Regions from separate parts of the Homo sapiens genome. Here regions 1, 3, 4 and 5 are each linked to region 2. Evidence: promoter capture Hi-C in 16 types of primary human blood cells and fetal thymus (Javierre and others, 2016). All regions are on one chromosome and are shown on one strand. Each heading gives the region's core, a stretch centred on a gene start or on the middle of the fragment in contact. The rest is flanking DNA. Distances are from core to core; before and after follow the strand shown.

Evidence for each region. The method cuts DNA at HindIII sites, captures the fragments that hold promoters and counts their contacts. A CHiCAGO score of 5 or more calls a contact.
Region 1: a fragment that was not itself captured here is called in contact with the fragment with the promoter of CYRIB in region 2 in 1 of 17 cell types (monocytes); the score reaches 6.7 in monocytes.
Region 3: a contact is called between a fragment that was not itself captured here and the fragment with the promoter of CYRIB in region 2, in 3 of 17 cell types (naive CD8 T cells, fetal thymus and neutrophils). The highest score is 7.1, in naive CD8 T cells.
Region 4: a fragment that was not itself captured here is called in contact with the fragment with the promoter of CYRIB in region 2 in 1 of 17 cell types (total CD8 T cells); the score reaches 5.0 in total CD8 T cells.
Region 5: a contact is called between a fragment that was not itself captured here and the fragment with the promoter of CYRIB in region 2, in 1 of 17 cell types (neutrophils). The highest score is 5.9, in neutrophils.

Annotation. Positions count from the first base shown.
Region 1 is chr8:130,336,256-130,338,955 of GRCh38, forward strand. The region is part of intron 3 of ASAP1 (ArfGAP with SH3 domain, ankyrin repeat and PH domain 1); the gene reads right to left. Among named protein-coding and RNA genes, the nearest start is that of ASAP1-IT1, 41 kb to the left of the region's middle. The HindIII fragment of the contact is 6,252 bases long and covers 1-2,700 here.
Region 2 is chr8:130,015,191-130,017,890 of GRCh38, forward strand. CYRIB (CYFIP related Rac1 interactor B) reads right to left here and starts at 1,370. Exons shown (of 14, transcript NM_001353258.2): 1 at 1,180-1,370. RefSeq lists silencers at 663-932, 1,123-1,312, 1,403-1,472, 1,523-1,582. The HindIII fragment of the contact is 5,812 bases long and covers 1-2,700 here.
Region 3 is chr8:130,352,682-130,355,381 of GRCh38, forward strand. All of the region lies in intron 3 of ASAP1 (ArfGAP with SH3 domain, ankyrin repeat and PH domain 1), which reads right to left. Among named protein-coding and RNA genes, the nearest start is that of ASAP1-IT1, 57 kb to the left of the region's middle. The HindIII fragment of the contact is 5,460 bases long and covers 1-2,700 here.
Region 4 is chr8:130,315,214-130,317,913 of GRCh38, forward strand. The region is part of intron 3 of ASAP1 (ArfGAP with SH3 domain, ankyrin repeat and PH domain 1); the gene reads right to left. Among named protein-coding and RNA genes, the nearest start is that of ASAP1-IT1, 20 kb to the left of the region's middle. RefSeq lists an enhancer at 2,209-2,268. The HindIII fragment of the contact is 460 bases long and covers 1,139-1,598 here.
Region 5 is chr8:130,369,059-130,371,758 of GRCh38, forward strand. The region is part of intron 2 of ASAP1 (ArfGAP with SH3 domain, ankyrin repeat and PH domain 1); the gene reads right to left. Among named protein-coding and RNA genes, the nearest start is that of ASAP1, 73 kb to the right of the region's middle. The HindIII fragment of the contact is 8,161 bases long and covers 1-2,700 here.

The DNA.
Region 1 (2,700 bases), core at 201-2,700, 320 kb after region 2:
ACAAAAGGGCATGTGTGCGGGAGCATGTTTAAGGTTATATATACATCAATCATCCTTGCTATTCCTAGTGTGGTCAGTGAACCAGCAGCAGTGGCATCACCTGAGAATTGAAAAGAAATGCAGATTATTGGGTCCTACCCCAAACCTACCAAATTAGAATCAGCACATAATAAGCTCTCCAGGTGATTTGTATGCACATTGAAGTTTGAGAAACACATTCAAAGCAAGCTGGATAAAGACAAGGCAATAAACCAAAGGAACTAATATGTGATGAATGTCTACTATGTACCAGTTTTGGTATTAGGCACTTTACATGGGTAAAAGAAATAAAGACTAAGGCAGGATGAATGGTGTCGGCATCTATCATGTGATGCATCAAAGAGATTCAGAAAAGATGCCATACTCTTACAATCTGAGAGGAGCATGGTAAAGCCAACCAGGGGGAAAAATACTTTTTGACAGTCTTCATTTTGACATAAGTCACCGAACAGTGACAAAAAAGTACCTATTTGCATTGTCTCTAAAAGACGGTAAGCCAGATAGATGTCAGACCTAGCAGAAAAGCTAAAAAGATACTAAACTCCCAATGAAACCACCAGAGAACATTTCAAGAAACTACTTCTCCCAAACAGCTCCAGTCTCATAAACTATAAATTTATGAAAGAATAAGAGAGAAAAGGGCAAAAAATGTCTTGACCTTAGTATAAAAATAGTTTTGATCTCTCAGAACCCCTGGAAGGATCCTGGGACTTCCCACAGGGAACCCCAGACCATACTTTACATATCTTTACAATAGGGACAATCACAAATAGCTAACCCAGTCAGGACTCACATCAGAGTTTGTATGAGGAAATAAGGAAAGGCTTGGGCATCAACAGCAAGAAAATAATGCCACAGGTTGGTAAAAGGGTGAGATTAATTCAAAAATATTTTAAAAGATGTTCATGTTTTCCATGTTAAATTACATTTAAGTTTGATTTAGGATCTGCTTACTTGTAACTATCATCTTAACTCCAATTGAGTGGTGCATGCTTCAAATAAGATCATAGGAAAATCACTCTATCACTCATATTAATCAGTAATTGGGTTGATTTCCTGTACCACCAACCACCTGCATTTGATTCCTCATTGATAATCAAGGCAACTTTTTGCTTTTTTAGAAGTCTCCAGTGTAACAAAAATGAGTACACTGCAAAGAGAGCCCTGTTATAAACTGTAAATTCTGAACGCTAATTAAGCATGCTAGTCCTCTCCAAATAATCAAATCCTAACATGTCCATGATAATTAACAGAAAAAAATTGTTACATAATCCTATCAGGAAATAAAAGTTGGTTATGTATAGATGGGGGTGAAGGAAGAGGTTTCTCTCCTTCCCATGAAAATTGAAGTACTAAAGGCTAGCCAAACCTCATCCACAACTTCTCAAAGACCTTCTGTAATACATCTGTTTTCATGCATTTCTTTCCATTTTTATAAGTCTTTTACTTTCCTCTCCTCTCAACTTGAAATCTCACCCATCCACCAAAACATTCTCTTAAGTCAGAACAGAGAAGAGGCAATGGCCAGACTTGGTAGCAAACTCCCTTGATCCTAAAATCGAACCTACATATAAAATAGTGACAGCCAGTTCCCCATGGGGATGGCAATTATAGCAACTATTTCTATTGTGCATTTACTACATACCAATGTGGAGTGTAAGATGCCTAATCCATTACTTCATTTTTGCTTCACAACAATCGTTGAAATACATATTACACTCATTTTACAGAGGAAGAACAGGCTCAGAGTGGTGAAGTGGCTTGCCCTAGATCACATATTTGGGCACTGGGGGATAAGACGACCTAAGGAGCCTGTGATGCTTTACATGCATTCGTTCACCTCACCCTCACAACAGACCCATGCAATAGTACAATACAAATATTACAGTTCAGAAAAAGGTATATATTTATAGGTGATGCTGGCAGCAGATGCCTAAGTAACAGAGAAGTAAAGTAACTTGCCCAAAACTGCACAGTTAAGTGGCAGCAGCAGGCTTAACAGTACCTACCTAAATGGTGGTCATGAGGTTTACATCAGTGGATGTAGTTAACTACCTGACATACAGCAAATACTCAATAAAAATTAGCTGCTACAATTAAAGTATTCTGCATAGGGGAAGTATTCAACAAAGAACAGCCAGCAACAACAGAAGATACGTGTCAGGTAAATAAAGACAGGACTCTCCTTCCAAGAAAAGAACATTATCCTGACTACTCCCCAATAGCTTTACTGCCCACAGTCATCCCAGCAAACACTCTGCAGTATCTTTAATGACTCTAGCTAGTCATGCATCTGTGTGGAATTTTTTCCATTTCTTTTATTAACAGCAGGCAATGGGGTGTGCTGGAAAATGTACACACTGGGCTAACAGTGGCTCCGGTTCCATCACCTTCAAACTACATGACATCTGTGGGCCTGGTTTCCTCAGCTGAATGCTGAGGACAATCCCATCTCCCCTGCCACACCAATGCTCCACACAGAGAGCCAGCAGAAATTCTGACTTCCTACTGCTGCTCTGGCTGCCTTGTTGCTTCAGTGGATCACAATCCTTCTGAGGACTGTTTCCTGGGCATTTCCCCCAGAGCAGCAGTTGCTGGGCTCTTTCTGCACACTGGTTGGTCCAGAATTGGGCTGCTGGGCAGACAATCAAAATCACAAGA
Region 2 (2,700 bases), core at 120-2,619:
AAAATGTGGAAGCACACCGACTCACCTCTCAAAATTCACCACCCACTCGTTCATCTCACAATTATCTATGGGGTGCTTCCCACGTGCTTCAACGCACCCTTTCTAGGTGCTGGGGATGCAGAAATTCAAGGTGACTGGCAATGACACTTTCTATCACTGCGCCCCCTGCAGGCCAGGAAATCTACGCTCGTTTTCTCAAGGCCCCACTCGCAGCAGCCCATTTCACAGACGGGACCCTAAGACTCAGAGAGGGTAAGCGACTTGCCCAAGGTCACACAGCTAGTAAGCGGCAGGGCCAGGAATTAAACATAGCTGCAAAGTGCATGTGACACTCCCCCGCAGCCCCAGCTCTATCCCTCCGCACCCCTCCACCTCTTGCAGCAGGGTGGGTAGCAAAGGCACACTCCAAGTAGCTCCAGCATGGTAAGACCTCGATTCCTCCTTCGTTCCACTCCTGACACAGGACACACGTTTCAAAGGACACACAGGTTTTTCCCAACCCCAGTGTGTGTGTACACAGCCCCAGGAAAGCCCTGCAGGCTGCAAGGGCACCCACCCGCTAACACTGAACTTCCATTTAAAAAGAAAGATAATGAAAAGATAAAAGGCGAAGAGGAAGTGCTCTTTAAACACAGGCGGGTGGCTACCCCAGGAGGAAGTCTTGAGGCCAGTGGAGATTTTGTTCACCCCCTCTAGTTCCTCAAATCCAATGCGACTGGTCTTCCAAGCCCCTGATGGGAGGTGGCCGGGGGCCAGCGCTGCTCCCGGGGTCAGTCCCCGCACCGACACCCGGCTCGCAGGAAGGGTCTGCCAGGGACCAGCCACCCCGACCCGAGCGCCCCCTGCCTCGAGGCGCACAAGGCGCCGGCTCCGCAGCTGGGTGGACCCGGGCGGCGGCCCCGCTGCGCGCTCCCCTCGCGTCCGCCCGCCGCCCCCCGCGCACTCGAGGCGCCTCCCCCGGGACCCCCGCGCCCGCCGGCCCGGACGCCCCCACCACGGCGGCGCCCCCTGTCCACCCGCCGCAGCGCCCGGCCCGGCGGCCCGGATGGTACCTCCGCCTCTCCCCGCACCCATCACGCGCGCGCCCCGCACCCCGCGCCCTCTCCGGGGGCAAATCGGATCCAGGGGCGCGCGCGCGGGCCGGCCGGGCGGCGGCGCCTTCAGAGCCCCGGCACGTACCTGGCGGCCCGGGCGGGCGAGGGGAGCGCGGCGCGGGAGCGCAGGAGCCTCGGAGCCTCCGGTGCCGCCGCCGCCGCCGTTTCCGGGTTGGCGGGGCTCACGTCACCGCCACAGGTTTGCGAGCTGCCCCCGCCGCGGCGGCAGCAGCAGCAGCAGCAGCAGCCCGGGCGAGTGCCAGGCGAGAAATAACTATAAAAGGAAGAGGCGCGGCGAGGAGGAAGAGGAAGCGCTGTTTACCTTCGAGAAGCCGAGCCGCCGGCGCTCGCACAAAAGGAGGACGCTCGCCTCGCGACGCGCCTCCCCCCGCGCCCAGTCCCCGCCGCATCGCGGGGCCCCGGCGTCAGCGCGCGCCGCGCCCCGGGACCGCCCCGCGCCGGCCCCCACCCCAGAACCCCGCGCCCGCCTGGCCCGTGTCCTCCCGAGCCGGGGCGCCACGGGCCCGGGACGGTGGTGACCTTGGGCAAGTCACCGCGGGGCGCGCTGCGATTGGGGGTCATCGCCCTCATTGTGCGAGGAGGAAACCCGGCTCCGAGAGGCGCAAGAGTGACCCCCAAGGTCACTGCCTGTCAGGCAGGGCTTGGGCTCGAACCCCGGTCTCCAGACCTTCAGGCCGGCCAGGTTCCCATCCCTGGGTCGCTTCCCCCTCACCTGGACTTCAGGAATGGTGACAGCCCCTGCCTGGCTCACCTCGCAGCGGGGTCAGTGAGAGGAATGCTGTCCACGCACCCATTCAGCCCTCCCGCAGATACTTACTGGGCCTACTAAGTGCCCGGGCTGTTCTAGGCCCTGGAGCTGCAGCTGCGAACCAAAACAAAATCCCTGCCCGGGAGGGGCAGCGGGGACAGGCCGTAAATATCTGATGGGTCCTATGGTGCTAAGTGCTGTGCCAGAGGAAAAATAAAGCGGGGTGAGGGGACGGTGCGGGCTGTCGGTGCTACCCTAAGCGGTTCTCCAAGGACTTTAAATTTAGTACAGAAATTCCCACATAAAAAGCTCCTCGCCATAATTCCAGTTTCAGGTATTATGGGAGACCTCATCTTTCCCCTGATCTAGAATGGAAAATACTGTGTTTTTCTCCCTGTAACAGGACATGCCTAGGAAACTGATACTCTCCTTCCCTCTGCCTTGCTCCCCTGGCCCAGAAGCCCATCCTATCATTATCTTGACATTCAACCAGAAATTTCTCGGGAAGATAGACAACATTCTCTCAAGTATCTTTCTGCTGTCCTCTAGCAGGGTATCAAAAGGGTTACATCAAAGGCTTCCATTGTCTTTCCACCTCCACCTCCAGCTATAGGGGGGTTGGAGTGTGCTCACATCATACTCAGTGCTGAGTTACCTGATTAGGAGCCAGTTGTTCCATTTCTTTTCTTTTTTCTTTCTTTTTTTTTTTTTTGTCTAAGACAGGATTTTGCTCTGTTTCCCAGGCTAGGTAGCGCAGTGATGCGATAGCTCACTGCAGCCTCAAATTCCTGGGCTCAAGCGATCCTCCCACCTCAGCCTCCCGAGTTGCTGGGACCA
Region 3 (2,700 bases), core at 187-2,686, 340 kb after region 2:
AATCCTGAATTTCTTCATCTATAAAATGGAGCCATTGATGATAGTAGGGTGAAAAAAGGTATTAAATAATAGTATGTATAGGGTTTGCATGTAGTAGGAATGTTACTGTTATGAGATAGAGCTTGATACTGAATCTACATTCTGTATCTTCATTCATTTCATCAAACATTTCTATATCTTCAGAAATAACTGAACACACCAGGTGAATACATTAAGAAAAGCCTCTAATGCCAGACCCAAACTTGATTTCCAGTTTCCATAAGAAAACTTTTAGGCTGCATTTTTTGAGGGCAGGGTTCTTCTTCATTGTATCCCTGGGCCTAGCACACTGCTGGGCACATAGGAGGCACTGAACAATCTGTATATTGACTACATGGTAATTTGAGTGATTTCACTTGTATTCCTAGGATGAATGTTCTATACTATTTCCCTCCCCTATGAACTGCCCCTTTCTACCCTGTTAAAGAGTTTTAGCCTTATTTCTTTATTTCTTAAAGACCACTAGCTTCTCCATAATACAATCTGGATAACCCCAATACCTCAGTAGGACTTGGAAAATGACTTGTATATAGCAGGGCCTCCCCAAAAATGTGTTGAACAAATGCTGTTCACGGATTATACTCAAATGAGTTCCCACATTTAAATCTGAAAACTCATATCCAAATCTTCGAAAGTACAGGGAAAAAATAGTATATTTAAGTATCACTATTAAGAACTCTGAAATATAAACATGAAGAAACACTAAGCCTCCAAGGAACTTAGGCACCTTTTTTAATCAGACCAAAACTTGAAGGTGCAATGACAGCAAAGTCTCCTATGTTCCCTATAAAGCCACTGAAATATGTTTTTGTAGACATTTAGAATACCTATTTTATGTCTCAACTGTTTTAAGATTTCTAAACTCTGGGCCAGGCGTGGTGGCTCATGCCTGTAATCCCAGCACTTTGGAAGGCTAAGGCAGGCAGATCACTTGAGGTCGGGAGTTTGAGACCAGCCTGGCCAACATGATGAAACTGCGTCTCTATTAGAAATACAAAAATTAGCCAGGCATGGCGGTGTGCACCTGTAGTCCCAGCTGCCCCAGGAGGCAGAGGTGAGAGAATTGCTTGAACCTGGGAGGCAGAGGTTGCAGTGAGCTGAGATCGCACCACTGCACTGCAGCCTCGGCGACAGAGTGAGAGAGCCTGTTTCACGGAGAGAAGGGAGTGAGATTTTTTTTTTTTGAGACGGAGTCTTGCTCTGTCGCCCAGGCTGGAGTGCAGTGGCGTGATCCTGGCTCACTGCAAGCTCCGTCTCCCGGGTTCATGCCATTCTCCTGCCTCAGCCTCCTAAGTAGCTGGGACTACAAGGCGCCTGACAACACGCCCAGCTAATTTTTTTTTGTATTTTTAGTAGAGATGGGGTTTCACTGTGTTAGCCAGGATGGTCTCGATCTCCTGGCCTCGTGTTCTGCCCACCTCGGCCTCCCAAAGTGCTGGGATTACAGGCCTGAGCCACCGCGCCCAGCCGGGAGGGAGATTTTTAAATTCCATTTTATTTACTAGCCACTTGACCTTAGAGAGAAATCATTTCATCTCTCTGGGCCTCAATTTCCTTCTCTATAAAATGGAAACGATAAATGTTCCTCTTTCAGAGAGCTCATATGAGAGGTAAATGTAAGCATTCATGCCATGTGTCGACAGCAGGCCTGGTATGGAGCAGCTGCTCAATAAATGAGCAGAACTTGCCTCCTTCATTGTCACCAAATTAAAATGTGGCCCAATATAAAATAACCAAGTAGACTTCCATTTATCATGTTGGACTCTCTCTCTGACAAAGGTACTAAGTATTAGCCACTCTAAGTCTTTAAATAGAGGGTCCCTTCTACTGTCTGGGTCACAGCAGTCCTAAAATGCCTGCCTGCTCCCGTTTAGGGAAAACGCTTATGCTCTCCTAGTCACTTACTCATAACTTAAAAATTGTCAAGAGTAAAATGGCACACATCAGTGTGCTTTCACTGCTGAATAAGTAAAACACTGGCTTTTTGCTTGGAAAACACTCACACGCCAGGATGAAACCTTGGCAGAACACCAGCTCATCCATTCCTGCCTCCCCAAGGTAGCCACTCATTGTGTGCCAGCCAAACCGTGAACCCCTGAGCCATGTGTGACCCTTCGCCCCAAAAGGTAAAGCCCAGAAGTAAACCAGAAGTAAACTCCTCTTTGCCTCTTCTTACCATTTTTGAGACGTAGCCTCACTCTGTCGCCTAACCTGGTGTGCAGTGGTGCGATCTTGGCTCATTGTAACCTCGGCCTCCCGGGTTCATATGATTCTCCTGCCTCAGCCTCCCAAGAAGCTGCGACTACAGGCATGCGCCATCATGCCTGGCTAATTTTTTAGTAGAGATGGGGTTTCCCTATCTTGGCCAGGCTGGTCTCGAACTCCTGACCTCAAGTGATCCACCTGCCTCAGCCTCCCAAAGTGCTGGGATTACAGGTATGACCCACCACGCCCAGCCTTCTTACCATATATTTCTCATCTACTTCCAAGAGTGCTCATCACAGAGATTTAACTAAAAGCATCAACATCTGCACAACACACCACAATCTCTACCAAGGAGACATAGTAAAAGAAAGAGTATGGATTAATTTGGGGCTCCAATCTTGGAGATCTAACAGTTTTTCAGTTGCGCTCTATGTATGTGCATTAGTGATCTAAAGA
Region 4 (2,700 bases), core at 119-2,618, 300 kb after region 2:
TGGGAGGGGATCATTCTAGGATTTACAAAAAGAAGAAGAAACAAAACCAAAAAAAGTCTATGAATACTCCACAAACTGGTACATTCTTTGTATATAACCAAGAGAGATCATATAACATAATGATCATGCCCTGTCAGGGATGAGAGTTGAGATCCAGAAAGAGAAAAATGAAACTGGGTCCCAGGAAATAAGAGCTAGGAACAGGGGGTCTAAGGCAGGGGTAAGTCTCAAAACCAGGACTATCCACTAATAATGTTCAGAATTGCAACAAATAGGAAGAAAAACCCTACACATTGAGCAGAGCATAAGGAAGAGGCTCCTCTTCCTTTCTCTAAGGAGAAGAGGCGAGTCTGAATTAGGCTGAGCCAAGAAATAGACCACTTGTTGCTTCCCAGCTGTGCTCCCATGAGGTGTCTGGAGTGCCTCCATTAGCAGGGTCCCCTGCTTCCCAAGTTCAATGACAGATATGCCCCCTAGCAATATCTGGTCTACCCAGCTGCAATTTTAAATGGAATGACTATTACAGTGTATGGCGTACAGAGGAAATTGGAAAATGCAAAAGAAAAAAAGCAACACTGAGCACCCAAACCAATTCACAACACTTCTGCCCATCCATCATTCCCATTCTCCCTAACTTCCAAGTGCTAGCTTCCTTTTTTCTTGGTAATACAGCTACTAGCCTAGGCCTAGATATAAATCCCACTTATCTACTCCCTCTACCTGGTTTCATGGCTCATCTTCCCACTGGCATTGGCCACTCCCTTCGCCTGTGCCCTTCGGGTCCCTTCTCTGCAGAGGACCAACTCATCATCTATTCCATGGCTAGGAGAGAAAAGCACTTCCGTCTTTTCAGCTTAAAAGGTATTCCCTTTCCTCAAGACCTATTCTCAAAGAATGCTGTCCCTTTTCTACTGTCTGTTCCCATCCACAAGTTCACCTGTGACCACTATTATGCCATCTTCATACCAGTCTCCTCTTCTGAGGGCTATGCCAACCATCTTTCTCTACTGAGCTCCAGGACACTAATACTTCAATAACTTTTCCATCTAATCACAATTCTTTCTACTGCAACATCACTCTCAGCAGTTTTGGTATCCATATTGGTAAACATCAACTTCTCCACCTCCTCACTTCACTAAGCTTTATCTCTTTTCTACTCCAAGTATTCCTGATGTGGCCTTGTGACAGACACTGCTGATGTGCTGCCCCAACATCCATTCTCCCCATCTCCTTAGTACTAGAATCCTGGTTTTTACCAGAATATTTTGAAAATACAAGTTTCCATTTCCTAGCCTCTCTTACAGTCAAATGTGGTCAATAAATACTAGTGTTATTTATATGGGTTCTGGAAAAGAAGTGGCTCAGCTGGGAAAGCCCAATTTTGCCCTTCCATTTTAGATTCTCCATCTCAGAAATGACAGCTGGAGCTCTGGCAGCAATCTTAAGCTGAGAGGTGACCTTGAGGATGGAAGTCATGTGCTGAGGAAGGTGAGATCAAAAGGAAGGAGGCCTGAATCCCAAAGGACGCCACAAACCTGGCATTCCAGGCCTATGTCTAAGTTCCTTTTAGAGGAGAGAGAAATAAACTATCGCATTTAAGCTTCTGTTTATTTGGGATTTTCCCCCTGTAATATGCAGCTCAATGTAAATAATTAATACTGGCCAAAGATCAACTAATGGCAAATAACAAAATGCGGTGCAGGCTCTCCAACACGACAACTCATTAAGAAGAGTCTAAAGTGACTTGAAGGCCAATGTTTCTTAACCTTATGTCAGTACAGGCTATGCTGTTGAATGTTCCAGGCCCTACTATCATTTGGTACATTATACACCTTGAGACTCATTCCTATTTTGCTTTTAGTTTCACATCATGCTTTTTTTTTTTTTTTAATCTCTACAGCTGTCTATAACAAAACTTTTTAGGAAAGTACCACAAATATGTTAAACAGAAGAAGCAAATCTCAAATAATGTGCAAAAGCTGTGAGTTTCTTCTTACATAAAACTGGTACCTAAGCAAGTGAGGGTTCATTTTATTTTTCACTCACCAATCCCCATATCATTATACAGTAACACCATACAGCCAAAACGGCCATGATATTCCTCCCTTCTCAGCCAAAATTGGGCAAGAGAGAATGACCCTTGTAGGGGAAAAGAAACCTCTACGATAAACTGAAATGCCACCATCAGGGTTTGTTGAAACTGTAGGAACAGGGTCTACGACTCACTTAGCTGCTAATGAGTTTCTATGATTCCAGATGGAGTAGTTCAAAGTAAGAAGTGAAGGGGCTGGACCTGTCTGTGAATCAGAATGAGCCCACGTCCTCCAGGAAGGTTTTTTATAGCCTCCTCTCCCAAATGGAAAAGCCAAATCCATCACTGATGCTTCCATCAGAACCTGTAGAGGTACTATCATAACACCTTCCACACAGTTTAGTGCACTTAACCTGGAAACCAGTTACCTCCATTGTGAGCTTTGAGGCCTGGGGCTCTGTTGCTACGCGTTTGTTTCACTAGTGCTAAGAGTGGAATGTAGCAGATGTTCAGCACATGATTGCTGAGTAAAAGCCATCCTTTGTGGCTGAAGTGATGAACATGGCATGGCAGGCCCTTTCCTCAAACAACTAATGAGCTGAGACCTGATACAGCAGCAAGAAGGACCCTATAATCCTGAGGAGGAGGGAGTGGAGAGGAGAGCTGAG
Region 5 (2,700 bases), core at 154-2,653, 350 kb after region 2:
TATTTACGTCAAAGGATTGTTATACAGAATCAATTAGATAATACACATAACAGAATGGGAGAAAATAGTTTCAAATCGTATACAGGTTGAGTATTCCTTATCTGAAATGCTTGGGACCAGAAGTGTTTCAGATATTTTTTTTTATTTCTGGAATGTTTACATATACATAATGAGACACCTTGGGGATGGAGCCCAAGACTAAACACAGAATTCACTTATGTTACATATAAACCTTATACACATAGCCTGAAGGTAATCTTATACTATATTTTTAATGATTTTGAGCAGGAAACAAAGTTTGTATACAATGAAATATCAGAAAGCAAAAGTGTCAGCATCTCATGTTGGCATTCAAAAAGTTTTGGATTTGGGAGAATTTCACATTTGGGATTTTCAGATTGGGAATGCTCAACTTGTATTTGATAAAGGCCTAGTATTCAAAATATATAAACTTTTGCAACCCAACAATAAAGAGATAAATAACTAATTTAAAAGTGGACAAAGGGGTTAAATAGACATTTCTCCAAAGATATACAAGTGGATAATAAGCACATGAAAAGATGCTGAACATCACTAAACATTAGGAAAATGCAAATCAAAAACACAATGAAATGCCACTTTGCACCCACTAGGATGGCTGTAATAAAAAAGATGGAAATTGACAAGTATTGTCAAGGATGTGAAGAAACTGGAACCCACCACATTGCTGGTAGGAATGTAAAATGGTGGAGTAGCTTTGAAAGACAATTTGGCAACTCCTCAAAAGGTTAAACCAAGTGTTATCATCTGACCCAGCAACTGCTTACTATTGTGGACTGAATGCATGTGTCCCACCCAAATTCACATGTTGAAATCCTAACCCAATGTGATGGTATTACAACGTGACACTTTTGAGAGGTAATTAAGTCATGAGGGTGGAGCCCTCATGAATGGGAACAGTGCCTTATAAAAGAGACCCCAGGCCGGGCACAGTGGCTCACGCCTGTAATCCCAGCACTTTGGGAGGCTGAGGTGGGGAGATCACCTGAGATCAGGAGTTCAAGACCAGCCTGGCCATCATGGCAAAACCCCGTCTCTACCAAAAATACAAAAAATTACCCAAGCATGGTGGCGCACACATATAATCCTAGCTACTCAGGAGGCTGAGGCAGGAGAATAGCTTGAACCCAGGAGGCGGAGGTTGCAGTCAGCTGAGATCACACCGTTGCATTCCAGCCTGGGGGGTGACAGAGCAAGACCCCATCTCAAAAACAAACAAACAAACAAAAAAAACAGAGAGCAGCTCTCTAGCTATTTTTCAGCCATATAAGGACACAATGAGAGGTCAGCAGCCTGCAAGGGAAGAGGGCCTCACCAGAATCCAACCATGCTGGTACCCTGATCTCAGACTTCCAGCTTTCAGAACTGAGAGAAATACATTTGTTGTTTGTAAGCCATCCAGTCTAGGGTAATTTGTTATAGCAGCCCAAACTGACTAAGACACTCCTAGGTATATACACAAGAGAAATGAAAACATATGTGCACATAAAACCTTGTACACCAATGTTCACAGCAGCATCATTCTTAACATTCAAAAAAATGGAAACAGCTCAAACGTTCATGAACAAACAAATGGATAAACAAAATGTGGTATATCCATACAATGGAATATTATTCAGCCATAAAGAGTAATAAAGTACTGGCACATGCTACAACATGGATGAAACTTGGAAACATTATGCTAAGTCAAAAGTCAGATACAAAAGACCACATACTGTATGATACCTTAAAGGTCCAGACTAGGCAAATCTATAGAGACAGAAAGCAGATTAGTGGTTATCAGGGGCTGTGGGGGAAGTGGTAATGTGCAATGACTACCAGTGGGTACAGGGTTTCTTGTGAGGAGTGACAAAAATGTTCTGGAAATAGACAATGGTGATAGTTCTATCATTTTGTGAATACACTAAAAACCACTGAATTGTATATCTTAAAAGTGCAAATTTTATATGAATTATCTCAATTTTAAAATAACCACTATGGTGGTGAAGATGGAAGGCATACCTTACCTGTTAATAACAACTAGAATGACGATGATTTAGTATCTACTATATACAAGGCAATTTATTTATGATTTTCTTTAACCCTCACTGCAACCCTACAAAGTAGCTATTATTCTCCTCATGTTTAATAGATAGGAAATTGAGACTCAGAGAGGTTAAGTGCTAGACCTAGGGTGCTGAAATGAGTAAGTGGTAGAGTTAAGATTCAAACAGAAGTCTATCTAATTTCAAAGTTCAAGCCCTTTGCACTAAACCGCACTCTCTGTACAAATGGTACTCTGCTGATGTGGCAGGACTACCAGTTATGTACCTGCTATGTAGTCCCCGTTTCTTCACTAACAGAGCCCCAGTTTGATTCGGGGCAGCAATGTGTTTAGCTAAAAGACTCATCTTCCAGCCTCCCTTACAGCTAAGGTGGCTATATGGCTAAATCTAGCCAGTGAGATGTAAGCAGAAATGCTATGTAGGAGTTTTGGTAAAGTGCCTTAAAAAGGGCTAACACAGCTGGAAGAGGACTCCTGTTATCCTTCCCTTCTTATTGCATCTTGCTGCCTACTGTAATGTGGTTGTGACGGCTGACACTCCAGCAACCATTTGGGATCCTAAAGCAATATGATAAAGAGAGTAGAACCAGGGAAACAGAAAAGGCTTGGGCTCCTGA